Regions from separate parts of the Homo sapiens genome. Here regions 2 and 3 are each linked to region 1. The links are contacts of gene promoters, found by promoter capture Hi-C in human tissues and cell types (Jung and others, 2019). All regions are on one chromosome and are shown on one strand. The core of a region is centred on a gene start or on the middle of the fragment in contact, and the rest is flanking DNA. Distances in the headings are between cores, read along the strand shown.

What was found. Contacts are between HindIII fragments. The study calls those that stand out against the background at their distance.
Region 2: a fragment that was not itself captured here is called in contact with the fragment with the promoter of PLCXD3 in region 1 in 3 of the 25 tissues and cell types used here (dorsolateral prefrontal cortex, heart left ventricle and hippocampus).
Region 3: a contact is called between a fragment that was not itself captured here and the fragment with the promoter of PLCXD3 in region 1, in 1 of the 25 tissues and cell types used here (mesendoderm cells).

Annotation. Positions count from the first base shown.
Region 1 is chr5:41,508,539-41,512,857 of GRCh38, reverse strand. PLCXD3 (phosphatidylinositol specific phospholipase C X domain containing 3) reads left to right here and starts at 2,257. Exons shown (of 3, transcript NM_001005473.3): 1 at 2,257-2,434. The coding sequence starts at 2,332. RefSeq lists an enhancer at 1,903-2,731. The HindIII fragment of the contact is 4,804 bases long and covers 1-4,034 here.
Region 2 is chr5:41,251,024-41,255,622 of GRCh38, reverse strand. It overlaps a transcript of C6 not described here. Among named protein-coding and RNA genes, the nearest start is that of C6, 40 kb to the right of the region's middle. RefSeq lists an enhancer at 2,596-3,128. The HindIII fragment of the contact is 4,857 bases long and covers 1-3,899 here.
Region 3 is chr5:41,088,242-41,092,429 of GRCh38, reverse strand. The region is part of intron 3 of LOC105374739 (a long non-coding RNA gene); the gene reads right to left. Among named protein-coding and RNA genes, the nearest start is that of MROH2B, 19 kb to the right of the region's middle. The HindIII fragment of the contact is 5,349 bases long and covers 1-4,188 here.

The DNA of each region.
Region 1 (4,319 bases), core at 1,008-3,507:
ATTGCCCAAAATATTGATTATAAGGCTGGGAAAGAAATTCACAACTATCAACTTTCAGGCCTATCTTTTTTCATGGGTTGCATGTAGAAAATGATAATAACTTATATTAAACCAAGACATTTAAAATCCTGAAATGCAAATCAGATGAAACAGAGAAGGGACTGTTAGTTTGTTTTGCCAAAAGATAGTATGATTCTTTATAGAGGGGAACTTTCCTCACCAGTTAAGGTGGTTTCATTTTGTAAAAAATGCTTTGTAAATTTTTAGGGCCACATAAGCTCAATATACTTTAACAGGGCATGTTTCTAAAATGTGTCTTATTAAAAATGTACCCCAGATTCAATAATTATTTCATGCTTTTGAAAAAAATACTTCATAAGTATAGAAAAGACAAAGAGTGGTAAATACACATATCCTGTTATCTTAAACATGTATGCACTCTCTTCTGGAAGCTTCACCACAAATCTCTGAGTTCTTATTACCACTTTATAATGGAGAAAACTGGGGCTAGCAGAGACTAGAGGACTTGCCCAAACTACTCAGAGACAGAGCAGCTGACCACTAGATTTGAATTTTCCTCATTGCCTTGCAATCATGCCCTGAGACCACCAGCATTAGGTGGTGTTTGTAGGTTTCTTACAGAAGGGTGGTGTTTGTAGATCTCTTGACCAAGAGTCCTATAGTAAGCTAAACTATCATCCTAATTAAAAGGATATGTGGGTTCTATTGTACTAGCATGTATATTAAGATTTATTTGGGGAAAATTTTCAGTATATCTCTTCCTCATCACTAAAGATAACTGTACCATGTCCTCTTGAAGGTATGAATTTATTTTACAAGGGGCATGGAAAATTTGATAACCAAAATAAGGCGTTGCCTCTCCTCTATCTTTCCCATAGTGCTCCCCATTTGGGGGTGAATATTCTTAGGACTTAGCATCATTGTAGAAAATAAGGTAGGCTCTAGGTTTTTTCTTATTTTTTAATGCTATTTGGGATTAAATGGATTTACTAACCTTGAATAATTATTCTCATGTTTCATGGCTCTCTTTGTCTCCTATGTTGATTGTCATTTCCGCAATCTAATAGCATTTCCCATAGAAAAATAAAAATTTACACAACCCTGGCATGAAAGAACAGAGGTCTGTTTATTGCATTTCCATTTCCTGGGTTGCAAAAGCCCAGCACACTTTCAGTTCATCTCTTATAATTCCTATTCAGGCCACTGCTGCTCTCATTACATTTGTAAAACTTCATCTCTCTCCTTTTACTCATCTGAGAGCAGGTGGACCCAGACAGTTCTTTGGAGGCCCAGTGAGTGATTTCTCTTGAGAGAGGCACATCTTTCCAGTCTGCAAAGGAATGAAAATGCAGACAGTCACATAGATCACTTTGAATGGTGCCAAATACATTCCACCAAATGCTACTGGCAATAATTAGAGCATGTCACTGGGAGATGTGGCGATTTTCTTCCAGCATAAGGCTCCAGTCTTACCCTGAGTGCCATGAAACTGACAGGACAGAGGCAGTGTTCTCCATGGAAATAATGTAGACTTCTCATGATCTGAGAAAAGAAGGGGGAGTAGCATTTCTTGACTTTGAAATGTCTGGAGCAAGGTACCCAGGATTAAGTAGGAACCACCTAGAATTTACCATGCCCTTCACTGACTCATACTTACCAGCTATTTCACAAAGTAGGCAAAAGAGTGAATAAAGATAATCATTTTTTAATAAACAGGGTTGTGGTCTCTGGCTGAGGAAAGGTATAACCTGTTGTAGATTACAAAAAGGAAAGCTCTTTGATAAGGACGGAAAGCCCTGAAACCCAGCATGAGAAGTCTGTTCCTCAGGAGGCAATAACATCCCAAAGTCTGCTAGGATTTTAGGTTCAAGTGCAAGACTGTCTTTCATACAAACAGGACGAGAAAGTCACAGCAAAGGATCGAGCAAGCCATGGGCAAAGCAGTTGGAAAAAAATGAATAGAAAAGAAAAATAAGAAACCAGGGAAAGCTGCAGAATGGCGAGGAAAGGCAGAGACGCCTAGGAAGGATAAGACGGGAGGAGGGGGTTGGGGAGGGAGGGGAGAGCGGAGAGAGCTGAGCACGGACGTCAGGAACAAAAGCTCCAGCGGAGTCTGGCGGAGGCACTAAGGGAGCACGGGGTGTTTTGAATAATTATTAAAATTAGCATGTGTCTGCGCCATCCTGTGGGTGTGGCGCAGAGAGGAGTGTAAACTCTAGCGGGGCTAGAGCAAACATTGGATTAGCGGCAGCAGCCTGCCAGCCTGCCCGAGGAGTGCTGGGACCAGCGCGCTGCACGCCGACTGGCACGATGGCCTCGTCTCAGGGGAAAAACGAGCTGAAATTAGCCGACTGGATGGCAACTCTGCCGGAGAGCATGCACAGCATCCCCCTCACCAATTTAGCCATTCCAGGTAGGCGCGCAGGGGCTGCGGGCTAGGCGCTCGGCGCCCGCTCCACCTGCCCCGCCCTGCTTTATCTGCCACTAAGTGGTAACTTGCCACGATGCCCGCGGGAGGGAAACTCGTCTTCCAGGGTGGGTCTCAGGCCAGGCGAGCGCGTGCCGGGTAGCCTTGGGCTTCCTGGCGTTTTCCAAACCCCTAAGGACCGAGGCGCTAGAGTCAAGGTGACTGCTTTTCTCCTGGGCTTTTGAAGCAGGTTGTATGCGGAGGACTGGGGCAGAGGAGAAGCTGGGCTCCAGGATGGTGCCTCGTGACCCCCTCCTATGGTTTCTCCTGCAGATTTGGGGAAGTGGGAGAAATCTCTGGGTCTGCGGGGTGACCGTGTGTGAAGAACGCGAGCTAGTGTCAGGGGCTCGCCTTCGGTGCAAGGACCTGAGTCTATCCCTGGCATGGAATTGGGCGGATTTGATAGATTCTCGGCTACAGTCATTAATATTCGTCCCCAATCTCCTTTAAAAAGACAAAGCGCTTCCCGAAGAGTGATGAAAGTTCAGGGACCAGAGGCGGCGTGATAGCTGCCCTTGAAAAGGAGCCCAAGGGGGCGACGGGCAGAGGGCACCATTTCGTATCGGTTTGGACCCCGGGGGACCTGGCCGAGTGGCCGCTGTCTCGAGTCTGGTCCAAGTGCGTGTTGGCAACACACTTCGCCCAGGTCAAAAAAGCAAACCCTTGCGGACCGTATGTTTACTGCTCGGGACAGAAGCTGGGCAGGGGAACCTGCGTGACCTGAGCGGAGGGGTGGGATTAATAGGCAAATAGTACGGAAAAGGTGACTGAGAATGTGTCCAGACAGTCTAGAAGGAAAGAAGCGTGGACAAAGCGAGGAAGAGACCTGAGGGATCAAGAAGCTTCAGCTTGATGTGTGCGACTTGGACCAGAGACTGGGCAGGTTTCTAGGGTGGCAGCTCCTAACAACCCCCTAGATCAGGTATCCAGGAGTGAGGGTCGTTTCAGGACAGTTTACAACAATGACAGCTGGGACACGGCCATACTTTATTGTCAATTTGGCTATGCAGTTGGGCTGGGGGAGCACACACTTGATCTTTTCAGAGCTGGGCTGGAGGGCAAATTACTCATGAACAGTTCACTTCTGGCCCTGAGCTGAGCTGGGCTATTAAACTCAACGTTATGGTCTACCTCCTCTTGATCTGCCCCATCCAGCGCCCCCTCTCAGCTGTTGGAGGAAAACATAATAAAGAAAAAAACAACAAAAACAAAAACAAAAGAAGGGTTATTTTGAAAATCACTAGATGCTCCAACCAAGAGTGCTGCCATTGATCAGTCCCTCAAATCAATGGTTGTTAGTCAAGTGGATGTTTGGCAGCAATGGCAGGCACAGGCTACTACAAGTGCTATCCACAGAAGGGGCTGTCTCCTTTCGTCCTTCTTCAACAGATAGCTTGCTACCGGCCAGGAATCTCCAAGGAAAAGAACCAACCCCAGCTTCTCCATGCAGCACTTATTCTGCTACCTAGGCAAGCCTGGAGATTGCTCTTTTCAAGGAGACAGTAGAAAGCACAACTTTGGCATAACTCCATTCTCACTTCCACAGGCATTCCCATTCCTTTTCTTCCTTCATTTTTATTTGGATTTTAGACAGCTTCTTTCACATGGTTTCCCCTGAATGTTTTTATATGCATAGAAGGTAAGAAGGGCAATCACTGTGATGCAAACCTTCTGGCAGGTGACTCTCTAGAGCTACAGGATTAAAAGCCTATGTTTGTTTATCTAGTTCTGAGATGGTATGATATCTTTTTGAGTCTACCTTACATTTCTGTAATATTTCACTTTTCAAAGCCCTGTTATGTACACCAGCTCACAAAATCCTTCTAAAACC
Region 2 (4,599 bases), core at 222-2,721, 260 kb after region 1:
TATTGTAGGCAGAGAGAAGTGGAGATATGTTCAGGCTTCACAGTTTCCTATTTCCTGATTAGAGTCCCTTCCCAAGGCTTGGCTTCATGACTGTCATTGATTCCATAAGACACACTTGTACTACTATATATATTTCCTATAAGTAAGCCCTTGTCTCCGTTACTTGCAGCCCAAAGAGTCCAATTTCCCTTCTACCAAGAATATGAAAGAATGAAAGTGGATCTTGTGTAACCATGTTAAGACTCTTATCTTTTTTTTTTTTTTAACGGAATCTCACTCTGTCTCCCAGGCTGGAGTGCAGTGGGGCGATCTCGGCTCACTGCGGCCGCCGCCTCCCAGGTTTAAGCAATTCCCATGCCTCAGTCTCCCGAGTAGCTGGGATTACAGGCACCCACCACCATGCCCGCCTAATTTTTGTATTTTTAGTAGAGACAGGGTTTCACCATGTTGGTCAGGCTGGTCTTGAACTCCTGCCTCAAGTGATCTGCCCACCTTGGCCTCCCAAAGTGCTGGAATTACAGAGATGAGCCACCATGCCTGGCCAAGACTCTTATCCTTTTTTAAAGTTAATTTCTAGTTGGCCCCTCAAAGCATTTGTTCTCTGGGAAGTTGATGTGGATGACCAGGAATCAGACATGAGCACCTATGCATTATACTCTGGGTCTTCACCAATTTCTTGCAAAATTTAAAGTGACACAATCCCTCTATACCTGTCTACTCATTTGCAAAATTATCTAGGAGACTAAAACGCTTTCACTGAGATCCATAGTAGCAGAAGTCACATAAACTCTTGCAGGACTAGTCACTGTGTGCTTCCTGTAAATCTTGCTTTCTGGATTGCAACTGTTCTTCAGTTAAAATTTTATAAAGATAAAATGTTGTCAATTTGATTAAAGTCTATTCCAACACTGTATTATGATTTCCTTTCTATAGGGATCACTTAACATTTACATTGAGCTGAAATACACAGTGGTAATCTCTGATCTATCAGATAATAATTAGAATAATTGTGAAGGTTCTGTAAAGGGAGTTATCAAGGTTCTCTTCACTCTCCACTTGGTAGCTATATAATGAGGCTGGTGATATAATCTATAAGTAATATTTTAATTAAACCTAAGAAATGGAGGCTATACATGTAGGTACTTCTGTAGAAACTCTATTTTACTAGCTAAGGAGAAGACAAAAATTATAAAACTATTCTTTCTCTTTCTTTTTTTGAGATGGAGTCTTGCTCTGTTGCCCAGGCTGGAGTACAGTGGTGCAGTCTCGGCTCACTGCAAGCTCCACCTCCTGGGTTCACGCCATTCTCCTGCCTCAGCCTCCCAAGTAGTTGGGACTACAGGCGCCCATCACCACACCCGGCTAATTTAATTTTTTGTATTTTTAGTAGAGATGGGGTTTCACCGTGTTAGCCAGGATGGTCTCGATCTCTTGACCTAGTGATCCACCCACCTCGGCCTCCCAAAGTGCTGGGATTATAGGTGTGAGCCACCATGCCTGGCCAAAACTATTCTTTCTTTTCTATGTAATAATTTTTTCCTATATATATTGCAGTCAGGAACGTACTTTTATACATAAGTTATTCCTAGAAACATGTACTATTAATAAATAAGGCCAACTGTGTGAAATTTGCCCATATTTGCAACTTTTAAGGTTGGGATCTATACTTAGAGAACTTGGAATGTTATAAAATCCCAAATTACACATTGCCTTTTGGGCATAATTATCAAAATATTTTTTCACTGTTGCATACAATGTATTTTTTACAACTCAAAAACACCTTTAGGAAGCACTATCAATTTAATTACAGCTTTGGAGAAATTACAATAAAAATACCATATTTTTAAAAAACACTTTCTTTATTGTTGATGTTGATATAAACAATAGCACATATTATCCGTACAATTACATTCCACTCTGGATCAAGAAAGCGTAACAAGGACAATCCAAAATAACCTAAAAACAAGCTAAATAAAACAATGGTTTTTCAGCCATTGGACCCTACACTCTATAGAGCAGTGATTCCTGGGAGAGAGAAAACAAATTAGGTGGGTCCTACAATTGCCCTAGTTTACAGCCTTGATAAAAGTTTTTAGGCCTCAAGAAAAGGAGGAAAATCCCAAGTGGAGCCTGGGAGTCTCCCAGAGTTAAGAAAACAGACTTGGGACTGTAAGGATGTACAGCCAACTAGAGTTCACAGGGCAGGGTAACAAAAAGGAGAGAGCTACACAGAGAGAGATTTATGAGATAAAAATTTGGTGAGGGCCCTCCTCCAGCCTTTGGGTGAGTATCAGTCAGCTCACAGGTATGAGGAAACCACCTGAGGCCCAGCAAAGAACCACCCAAGAGGTTGGATTACAGGTGAAAACCACAGAGCTCAAACAAGGTTGGAGATGTTTATATTCCTACCAGCCAGAAAGGAAAAATCCCATGCATAACATAAATGAAGAAAAGTATACCAAGGGACTTCATAATCAAATGCTTAAAACAATTACATGTCATTCTTAACATATAATCAGATTTCAATTCAAGCCCATGCCTTCTTCCCCTCTTCAAAAATATTTGAAGAAGTTTATTCTGAGCCAAATATGACTCAAATATGACAGACCATGGCCTGGAACACAACCTCAAGAAGTCCTTAGAACATGTGCCCAAGGTGGTTGAGTTACAGCTTGGTTTTACACATTTTAAGGAGACAAAAGTTACAGGCAAAGACATAAATCAATAAATGTGAGGTATATATTGGTTCAGCCCACTCACATGCCAACGGTGGAGTCAAAGATTTTCTGATTGGCAATTGGTTGAAAAAGTTAAGATAAGGGGAGCTGTGGAAGCCAAGGTTCTTGTTATGTAGATGAAGCCTCCAGGTAGCAAGCTTCAGAAAGAATAGATGGTAAATGTCTCTTATCAGAACTTAAAAGGTATCAAACTCTTAAATTTCCCCTGAATCAGGAAAAGACCTGGAAAGGGAAGGAGACTCTCTACAGAAGGTAAAATTCTCCCAAAAGAGATGGCTTTGCAGGGCCATTTCAAAATACATCAAAGAATTACATTTTGAGGTAAAATATTTTTCTTTTCTTCAGGACCTGCTATCTGTCATTAGATGCTATCTATATCAGAATCAGGTTGGAGTTGGGTATCTCACTGCTACAAAGAGTCTGTCTTGTAGGTCTTATGGTCTCTATTTTAATGTTAGTGCTGGTCAGTTTTGCCTCAACTCCAAAGGGAGGGGTATAATGAGGCATAACTGACCTCCCCTCCCAACAAGGCCTGAACTAATTTTTCTTTGAGATCCTCTTGGCCAAGGAGGGGGGCCATCCATGCAGACTGGTGGAAGGCTAAGAATTTAATTTTTGGCTTACATCTTGTTTCCAGAATCTCTACCAGCCAAATGAGGTTAACATATTTCTTTGAATACACAATGCTCATGCTTTCCAATGCTTTAGGAATGTCTATTTATATTAGTTAAAATAGGGCCAAGTTTGAAAGTGAATCACAGAATATTTGCAAACCACCTTTAAATGGTCTTAGGTATCTGAATTTGCATATTACCTTAACAAATCTGTGTACACACATGTGGCCCAAGCATCTGGAAAAGATAGCCACGCTATAAAATCTTTTGCCATAAGGTTTACTTAGGATATGGATTTAGCTTCTTGCCTCTCTCCTTGAGTTTCATGCATTTACAGCCCCTTTATTTCCCAACCATATCTTTTCCCTTAGCAGAGACTTTACTTGCTTTTTGCTTCATGTTTCTAACCACAGATAAAATTTGCATTTCCCATATACCCAGCCTTGATGCAGAGACTCCAGCACAGTAAAATCCCTGAACTACCTAGTATCCCAGAATGAAAGGAAGGCACACGCAGCCTAGTCTGTCCTACATTGCAGCTTCAAGAAGAGCATTTGCAAAAATATATTTTGTATTTGCCTAGCGTCTGTCATTGTTTTAGCTCTCTAGCATCAGAACCCTTTTCTTAACTTGGGAGAAACTTCTTAGTGTAAGCATAAAGCTGAAAATTCGAAGACCTAGGTCCTTGACCTAAGATTCAGCTGTTCCAAACTTTTCTTCTAGGGCAAGGGACACAAAGAGGAGGATATCAGGAAGAATTCCCTTTGGTCATGACTACAGGGTTGGTGGCAACAAGATCAAGTTTTCAAGGACAATATGCCTGCCACACTAATAACAGCAATAGCATTCAATGTCTAGTGCCAGTGGTGCCAGTGATCCAACCTATTGCATCTGGTACTTGGTAGAAAATATATATATATATATGGTTCTGGGATGATTTGGGGTACAATTTCAGGCTGCCCCTATCCAGATTTTTCAGCCTGCTTGTTGTTTATTTGGACTACTCAACCTTTTCTTAAATAAGTTCCTTTTGGCCTGAATCAGCTGTTGTCAATTTATTTAAGAACTTGCATGTAAACCTGATTCAATGCATAATAACTAAAATACTTATGCCAGAGGCAGGAGAATAATATGTAAGATGGACCTAGAGTTTCAATTCAAAACTCAGAGATTCTAAATTTTATTATAGTTCTCCGCACTCAAGATGGGTGATTTGTGGCCAGTAATAAATCATCTCTGAGCTTCAA
Region 3 (4,188 bases), core at 1,144-3,643, 420 kb after region 1:
CATGGATCTGGATGTTCATTTTCTTTAGATCTGGGGATCTTTATTTAAACAGCTTCTGCCTCCTTTCTTTTTCTCTGCTTCTTCTGCAACACCCATAATACGTATATTGGTTCATTTGCTGGTGTCCCATCACAGGCTTTCCTTATTCTTTTCAATTTTTTCTTTTTATTTCTCTGAGTAATTTCAAATTCTTATGCTTTATCAAGTCTGCTGTTGAAGCTATGAAATTTTTTGTTTCATGCATTGTATTCTTTGGTTCTAAAATTTCTGCTTTGTTTTTTGTGATTTATATCTCTTTATTGTACTTCTCATTTGTGTTTTGCTTTTCTGATTTTATTTAGTTGCTTATCTGTGTTCTCTTATATCTCACTAAAATGATTATTTTGAATTATTTATCAGGTAGTTCACGCATTTCCATTTTTAAGGTTACTGGAGCTTCATTTTATTCCTTTGGTGATATAATGTTTCCCTGATTATTTCTGATCTTTGTGGCCATGCATTGGTGTCTGCACATTTGAAGAAGCTGGTACTTATTCTGGTCTTTACAGATTGGCTTTGGTCAGCAAAGCCCTTCTTCAGTCAGCTCATTCAGAGATCATGAGTAGGCTTGCTGTTGGAGCCTTCAGGCAGGCAGGACTGGTGCCTAAGTCTGCAAGGGATAATGATGTGCCTGGATTTGTGAGGCCCAGTCTGGAGTCTGAGTCTGTAGGTGTGGCCTGGAGCCTGAGGCCGCTGGGTCTGGTCTAGCATTGGAGAAGACCTGGAAGCTCAATTCACAAGTGCCAATCTAAAACCTGAAGCCTTGAGCACAAGGCTGGCACTCAGTTTTATTGGGGCAGGCCTGGTGGTCAGGTCCACAACAAAGTCTGGTGCTCACTTCACTCTCCTACTCAGAAGCAGAGTATATCTTTCTCTGTGCTGTGCTAGCTAGGCTGTGGGAAAGGGTGCCATGTGTAATTTGAAACTGTCATTCCTAATCTCTTCAATGATTTTTTTGTTCTTATTTCTGTATTATACCCAGGTGCTATAATCTCTCACCTAAATTCCTTAGCTCTTATGAAGGTATTTTTGCACACTGAGTTTTTCAAACTGATGTTTCTGCAAAGGGATGAGCACAAACAATCCTATTCTACCATCTTGCTGACATCACTAGGCTACGTTTTTTTAATTATTATTATACTTTAAGTTCTGGGGTAAATGTGCAGAACGTGCAGGTTTGTTACATAGGTATACATGTGCCATGGTGGTTTGCTGCACCCATCAACCCATCATCTGCATTAGGTATTTCTCCTAATGCTATCCCTCCCCCAGCCACCCACCCCTGACAGGCCCCAGTGTGTGATGTTCCCCTCCCTGTGTCCATGTGTTCTCATTGTTCAACTCCCACTTATGAATGAGAACATGCAGTGTTTGGTTTTCTGTTCTTGTGTTAGTTGGCTGAGAATGATGGTTTCCAGCTTCATCCATGTCCCTGCAAAGGACATAAACTCATCCTTTTTTATGGCTGCATGGTATTCCATGGTGTATATGTGCCACATTTTCTTTATCCAGTCTATCGCTGATGGACATTTGGGTTGGTTCCAAGTCTTCGCTACTGTGAATAGTGCCGCAATAAACATATGTGTGCATGTGTCTTTATAGTAGAATGATTTATAATCCTTTGGGTATATACCCAGTAATGGGATTGCTGGGTTAAATGGTATTTCTGGTTCTAGAACCTTGAGGAATTGCCACACTGTCTTCCACAATGGTTGAACTAACTTACACTCCCACCAACAGTGTAAAAGAGTTCCTATTTCTCCACATCCTTTCCAACAACTGTTGTTTCCTGACTTTTTAATGATCGCCATTCTGACTGGCATGATATGGCATCCCATTGTGGTTTTGATTTGCATTTTTCTAATGACCAGTGATGATGAGCTTTTTTTCATATGTTTGTAGGCCACATAAATGTCTTCTTTTGAGAAGTGTCTGTTCATATCCTTCACCCACTTTTTGATGGGTTGATTTTAATTGGATTTAAAATCTCTTTCACTCAAATATAAATTAAGGAGGGTCTTATATTTTGGCAGTTCAAGTAAAAAAATCTATGAGTTAATTTGAGCATAGAAACACAATGCAATTGAACTGCAAAGTTTAAAACCTTACATCTTAGGCTAAACTAAGAGAAATTTGATGTTCGTATCAGTATGAAATATTCTGATCAGTTATTGATAACATAGAGGGGCCTCTAAACACTATCAATCATTCAGAGAAAGTGAGAAAGACAGTAAGAGAGTTGGAAATCAAATTATTAAAGGAACTATTAAGAGATCATTTAGAAACTTTTTCCCTAGAAAATAAAAAATCTTTGAGGTGTAGAGCATTTCTGAAAATCTTTTTAAATATTTTAAATACCACTATACAGAAGAGAGAACATAAATTTTTCCTACTACAAAGAACAGAAGTATGGCCAAAGATATGATTTTCAAAATTAAAGAAATTGTCTCATAAGGTTGAACTTTCTAGTAATTTGAGTTGCGTCAAAATGGAATAGTCTTCCTGTGTACAAGTAGCAAAGTCTCTGTCCCTGGAAGTTTTTAGCATAAGCCCAGTCACCATCTGCTAAGAACAGGATGGGGATTAGGGGAAGGAGAAGGGAGTCTATAGTAGGAAAGAGGTTCTCTTGTATGAGCATCTAATTTTAGATTGAAAAATCCTCCAATTTTAAGGTCCTTTCATCCATACATATTACTCCATATACCAAAAAAAAAAGAGAGAGATTTCCTAGTAATTAGCCTGGTGATATTCCTGCAGTGGAGAAAGTTATATCCAACAATGAAGTCAGCACAAATTGAAACAAAATGGCCCCTGTGAGAATTGCTAATTCAATACCTAAATAAAACTGTATACATTTAAAAGTGCATAGTACTTATTTAATAAATTTTAAGTGATATTTCTTGACAGACAAGATAAATATTTAAGTGCCAACTTTACAACCACAAATCTGTCTAAATACCATAACTGTACAATGAGATACTTTGCCAATTTATAATGCAAATAAGGTATACAGACTTACATCCATGCGTGCTTTTTAAGGAATTCCTTCTTAGATTGTATCAATTTGTCTTTATAAGTGTTTATAGCTGAATTGTACAGTATTGATGTCTTTAAACTTACTTTTTTCTTTTCCTTGATACTGCTTTTTTTCTCATACTATGATTATTTCATTGCATCAAAAACTAATATGTTCCAAATAGCACAACTAAATTATTTAGATTGTATTGATGATTCAATTTGACAATGAGGGAGAAATTTTTTCACTCTTTACATAGAAATCAAATTAATAAAGTCCCAATTAAAATATATATATTTAAAGAGATTTAAGAGACATATTGGCCAGGTGCAGTGGCTCACGCCTGTAATCCCAGCACTTTGGGAGGCCGAGGTGGGTGGATCACGAGGTCAGGAGATCAAGACCATCCTGGCTAACACGGTGAAACCCCGTCTCTACTAAAAAATACAAAAAATTAGCCAGGCGTGGTGGTGGGCACCTGTAGTCTCAGCTACTCGGGAGGCTGAGGCAGGAGAATGGTGTGAACCCAGGAGGCAGAGCTTGCAGTGAGCTGAGATCACGCCACTGCACTCCAGCCTGGGCAACAGAGCGAGACTCCATCTCAAAAAAAAAAAAAAAAAAAAGGAGACATATCAACTAATTGCAATAGATGAGTCATAACTTGATCTTATTTAAACAAACTCTAAATATAATGATACTATGAGAAAATTGAGCTCTGACTAGGTCTTATTTTTTCTTGGCATACTCTTTTGAACCCTTACCTTTTAGGAAAAAAAATGTACAATATTTAGGAATGAATTATATAATATCTGGTATTTGCTTCAAAATAATACACGAATGAAGTAAATAGGGATAGAAATAAAACGTGATGAGCAATAACTTGATAATTATTAAAACTAGGATGTAAACATATACAATCATTCATTATACAATTATCTCTATTTTATATATGTCTGATAATTTTCATATTTTAAAAATAAAGTCCAATCTCAGTTAGACATTTGTCTCCCAAAGTCCTCAACCAGCAACCATCGAACTTTCTCATTTCACTGCATTTTTTTCCAAACTCCTATATTTTCCCAAATAATTCCGCTCTCACCTCACACTTATAATCCTCAAAAAGAAAAACAAAA